Regions from separate parts of the Homo sapiens genome. Here region 1 is linked to region 2. The links are contacts of gene promoters, found by promoter capture Hi-C in human tissues and cell types (Jung and others, 2019). All regions are on one chromosome and are shown on one strand. The core of a region is centred on a gene start or on the middle of the fragment in contact, and the rest is flanking DNA. Distances in the headings are between cores, read along the strand shown.

Region 1 (2,815 bases), core at 61-2,560, 100 kb after region 2:
GTGGTCTCAGGGAGGCATGACAAAAATGAGATTATAACTAGAAAAGTGGATACCCCATCAAGTACATTGTTCCTTGTCTGAATAAACTGTGAGTTCCTAAACTTTCAGGAATTTGTCAGTTCTTTGAGAACCCAGAACTTCTCTCTAGGAGAATATTCATATGCCCTTATGGTTGAGATGGCTGTGTGTTCACCGAAATCAGTTTCACTTTCCTCCCAAATGCACTGCTACACTGCATCTCCCAGACTTGCTTGCAGTTAAGAGCCATATCAGTTTTGGCCAGTGGAAGCAGGAGAAAGGGATGAATGTCACTTCCTGTCCTGGCCAAAAGAAAACAAACAAACAAAAAACCCTCTCCTCCAAGGTCCTCCAGACTCTCTTGATACTTGTCTACAAGCTAAAAGCAAAGAAACCTCAGCAGACTCTGAAACCGTAGGGGATGTTGGGGCTCCAGGATGTAAGAAGCTTGGATCCCTGAATGACCATGTGGAGCATTGTTTCCTGACCAGATGCACCCTTCTGGGATTTTGCAGAACCAAGAAAAAAAAAATGTTATTGTGTCAAGCAGCTGATAGTTTGGATTTTGTTTGTTACAATAGCTATTCTCACTACCCTCATAAATACACACTTTTTTTAAAACGTAAATTCCAGTTTTCATGGACTCTAATCCTCACTCAATGACCCCAGGTTAGGAATCTCTGGAATAAAGAATGTGGGATCAAGGTGCATCAATATGCAAATGGTTCCTGAGCCTTATCCAGAGGAGAACGATTTATCAGGCAGAAAAGGATTCTAATTGTGAAGAATGACTCACCAAGGCTTGAGTGAATGACATGTAAGCAAGGTTTCCTCTTGTTCTGTTTCCATGCTTACCTTACAGTCTTTTAGTGGTTAATTTAGATTCTGAGATATATTAAGATATAATTAGGTTGTCCAGGTTGGGGTCTGAAGGTTCTGTTCACTGGAATTATATAGCCTGCCTTTTACCCCCACCATGTGCTGAGCATTATGAAAGATGCTGGTGCCCATTATTTTATTTGATCTTCAAAATAACCCCGTGAGATAAATGCCGTTACTTCTCTTTTACAGTCTGGAAATTGACTTCAGAGAGCTTATGTTGCTTGACCAAAGTTACCAAGAAAAGAAGTGGCAGATCCAGGGTCCAAACCCCAGGTCTTCTGAGATTTTTTTTTTTTTTTTTTGAGAGGGAGTTTTGCTCTTGTCTCCCAGTCTGGAGTTCAGTGGTACGATCTCGGCTCACTGCAACCTCCACCTCCTGGGTTCAAGCGATTCTCCTGCCTCAGCCTCCCAAGTAGCTGGGATTACAGGCGCTCACCACCATGCCTGGCTAATTTTTGTATTTTTAGTAGAGATGGGGTTTCACCATGTTGGGCAGGCTGCTCTGGAACTCCTGACCTCAAGTGATCTGCCTGCCTCAGCCCTGCAAAGTGCTGGGATTACAGGTGTCAGCCACCGCGCCCAGCTTCTTCTGAGATTTTTGCTAAGCCATCTCCTGCCTACTTAGTTCCAGGAATCTTTGCTTTGCCCCATTCATTCTTCTCCAGCTTCTAAATCCTCCCTGTTGCTTTGAGTGTCCTTACCTCCACTTGACTCATAGGAATAGAGAAGGAAGGTTGTCCATCCCAACAGGTAACTGGACCATCGGGTCATCTTGGCTGCCCTCTTCTCTGTGGAAAAGAAGACAAAAATTTTCATCCCACACGTCCCCTTCCTCTTCCCATTACCTCCTAGATTTGACGTCATACATGCCATTTTTCTTTCCATCCACAGTAATTTAAAAAATAGACCAGGCATGGTAGCTCACACCTGTAATCCCAGCATTTTGGGAGACCAAGACAAAGGATCGCTTAAAGCCAGAAGTTCAAGACCAGCCTGGACAACATAGTGAGACCCCACCTCTACAAAATTTTCATTTAAATTAGCCAGGCATGGTGGTGTATGCCTGTGGTCCCAGCTATTCAGGAGGCTGAGGCAAGAGGATCACTTGAGCCCAGGAGGTCAAGGCTGCAGTGAGCTATGATTGTGCCACTGTACTATAGCCTCAGTAACAGAGTGAGACCCTATCTCTAAATACACACATACACACACATATACCACACACACACATATGTTTCTACATATGTGTGTGTGATATGTGTGTGTGTTTCTACATGTGTGTATGTACAGGTTTGTAGCCTGGAAGCACAGGCTGTATCATATAGCCCAGGTGTGTAGCAGGCACTACCATCTAGGTTCGTGTGAGTACACTCTATGATGCTCACACAAGGACGACATTGCCTAACAATGCACTTCTCAGACTGTATTCCTGATGCATAACTCTACTGTCATGTACTGTCCTTAGGAAAGTGTGATGGAAAGAAAAAAATGAAACACTTGTTGAACACTTACTGTACTCCAGGCTCGATGTTCAACACACTTTATGTCACTTGGCTTTCATAAATCAAGTAATACATGTTTTAACCCCCATTTTATAGATGCAGAAACTAACACTCAGACCTGGATTGGTCACCCAGGGAGGAAAGGGCAGGGTCTGGGTTCTAACCCATATTAATGGCTGCAAGGGCCCTTCTCATTGTTGGAACCTTAACAATAGCCTTAAATCCTCCCCATGAATCACACTCATCTCCTTAGCTGGAGACGAAAGTCCTTCAGTGATTAGCATTTACCGTCCTCATTAACCATAGTTATTACTAGCTCTATTTTCCTTCGTGCCGTTTCCTTGATGACAGATGACCATGCCATTCTCAGCAGCAACAAGAACCCACAGTTTGGAATTGGTGGTCTGGATTTGACT
Region 2 (2,700 bases), core at 119-2,618:
TACTGTGGAGAGCCTCATGAGCTCCTGCGAGGTGTAGAACCTTATCCCGCAGGCGGGGCAGTGGCATGGTCAGGTCTAGGAGTGAAAAGATCCTGCGATGGTTGGAGTTGCGGGCACTGAAGAGGTGAGCCTGGCGTTAGGGGGAGCAGGGGAGACCATCTTCCCCCTGGTGAAATCCTGTTCTAAAATTGGTGATACTCCTGCCTTGGCCTCCCAAAGTGCTAGGATTATGGCCTCATATCTATTTTTAAAAAATAAGAATTCAAGCTGGGTGCGGTGGCTCGCAACTGTAATCCCAGCACTTTGGGAAGCCGAGGCAGGTGGATCACTTGAGTTCAGCAGTTCGAGCCAGCCTGGCCAACATGGTGAAACCCTGTCTCTACTAAAAATACAAAAATAATTAGCCGGGCGTGGTGGCAGATGCCTATGTTCCCAGCTACTCGGGAGGCTGAGGTAGGAGAATCGCTTGAACCCAGGAGACGGAGGTTGCAGTGAGCCGAGATTGCACCACTGCACACCAGCCTGGGCGACAAAGAGTAAGACTCCATCTCAAAAAAAAAAAAAAAAAATTCAAAACCCATCGAGTTGGGATGACGCTTAGTGCTGGGCTTCAGGAAGAGTAGGCAGGAGGGTAGTATGGGAGGTTTCTAGGAGCCACTCTTGGAAGCGGTGCTCCCCACAGATGCCCGATTGCACTGACTGGAACTCGGTCACATGACCACATAACTCGCTCACATGACCACACCTAGCTGCAAAGGTGCTGGGAAATGTGGTACCCTGTTGGGAGGCCACTTCTGGGCTTCAAACCTTCACTGTGAATGGAGCTCACAGGTTTTCTAAAAATGGACATTAAATGAACCAGAGTTGGCCCTAAGGATCTGGCTCACTGCAACCTCCACCTCCCAGGATGAAGCACCTGCCTCAGCCTCCCGAGTAGTAGCTGGGATTACAGGCACACGCCACCATACCGAGCTAATTTTTGTATTTTTAGTAGAGAAGGTGTTTCACCATGTTGGCCAGGCTGGTCTCGAACTCCTGACTTCACATGATCCGCCTGCCTCAGCCTCCCAAAGTGCTAGGATTACAGGCGTAAGCCACCACGCCTGGCCTCAATATTTCTTTTTCTGGGTATTTGAGTATGATATTATATATGATGGTTATTAGACAGCCAGATGCATAGGAGGATTAGCTAATCTGTTTTGAGGAATACTTATCTCCAATATAGTTATATAACGACAACATTCTTTTTTTGAATACTGGTCTCGGGTGCCTAATGACAGAAGGGTGACATCACTAAGGAAGCCTGGAAAGTCCCAGCCCTCCACGTGATCCCACGGATGAAAATAGCTCCGGGTGAGCTCTGGAACAGCTGAAAAAGCTGGAGCAACCAAGCAGGGCCTACAAGCCGAGGAGGGCTGTTTAAAGGCGCAGGGGCCATTTTACCTCCAGGTTGGCCCTGCTCAGGACCAGGAGGAAACACCTCCAGCCCGCGACCTCCTCCCACAGGGGGAAAAGGAAAGCAGGAGGACCACAGAAGCTTTGGCACCGAGGATCCCCGCAGTCTTCACCCGCGGAGATTCCGGCTGAAGGAGCTGTCCAGCGACTACACCGCTAAGCGCAGGGAGCCCAAGCCTCCGCACCGGATTCCGGAGCACAAGCTCCACCGCGCATGCGCACACGCCCCAGACCCAGGCTCAGGCAAGCCGTGGGGGCAGGGAGGGCTGTTTCATCCCGCTGGGGCGGCCATAACCAAGTACCAGGGATTGGGTGCAATTAAATAACAGGATTTCTTTTTCTTTTTTATTTTATTTTATTTTATTTATTTATTTATTTTTTTTTGAGACAGCATCTCGCTCTGTCGCCTAGGCTGGAGTGCAGTGACGCGATCTCGGCTCACGGCAAGCTCCGCCTCCGGGGTTCAAGCGATTCTCCTGCCTCAACCTCCCGAGTAGCTGGGATTACAGGCGCACACCACCACACCCGGCTAATTTTTGTATTTTTAGTAGAGATGGGGTTTCACCATGTTGGCCAGGCTGGTCTCAAACTCCTGAACTCGTGATCCACCCCACTCGGCCTTCCAAAGTGCTGGGATTACAGGCGTGAGCCACCGCGCCCGGCTAGGAATTTATTTTCTAACACTTCTGGAAGCTAGAAGTCCAAGATCAAGGTGTTGGCAGGGTTGGTTTCTCCTGAAGCCTCTTGCAGAGGCCCTAATCTCTCCTTATAAAACCAATCAGGCTGGGCGCGGTGGCTCACGCCTGTAATCCCAGCCCTTTGGGAAGACGAGGCGGGCGGATCCTGAGGTCAGGAGATCGAGATCATCCTGGCTAACACAGTGAAACCCCGTCTCAACTAAAAATACAAAAAATTAGCTGGGCGTGGTGGCGGGCGCCTGTAGTCCCAGCTACTCCGGAGGCTGAGGCAGGAGAATGGCGTGAGCCCGGAAGGCGGAGCTTGCAGTGAGCCGAGACTGCGCCACTGCACTCCAGCCTAGGGCACAAAGCGAGACTCCATCTCAAAAAAAAATAAAATAAAATAAACCAATCAAACCAAATTCCAGGCCACCCTCAGGACCCCACTTTAACTTAGTCACCCCTTTAAGAGCCTATGTCTGGCCGAGTGCGATGACTCATGCCTATAATCCCAGCGTTTTGGGAAGCCAAGGTGGAAAGCTCTCTTGAGCCTAGGAGTTCAAGACCA

Evidence for each region. Contacts are between HindIII fragments. The study calls those that stand out against the background at their distance.
Region 1: a contact is called between a fragment that was not itself captured here and the fragment with the promoter of PLA2G4C in region 2, in 6 of the 25 tissues and cell types used here (H1 embryonic stem cells, liver, lymphoblastoid cells and 3 more).

What each region holds. Positions count from the first base shown.
Region 1 is chr19:48,007,524-48,010,338 of GRCh38, reverse strand. ELSPBP1 (epididymal sperm binding protein 1) reads right to left here. Exons shown (of 7, transcript NM_022142.5): 2 at 1,602-1,688. The coding sequence starts at 1,671. Among named protein-coding and RNA genes, the nearest start is that of ELSPBP1, 14 kb to the right of the region's middle. The HindIII fragment of the contact is 4,775 bases long and covers 1-2,815 here.
Region 2 is chr19:48,109,485-48,112,184 of GRCh38, reverse strand. PLA2G4C (phospholipase A2 group IVC) reads left to right here and starts at 1,368. Exons shown (of 17, transcript NM_003706.3): 1 at 1,368-1,698. RefSeq lists an enhancer at 1,393-1,552. The HindIII fragment of the contact is 42,556 bases long and covers 1-2,700 here.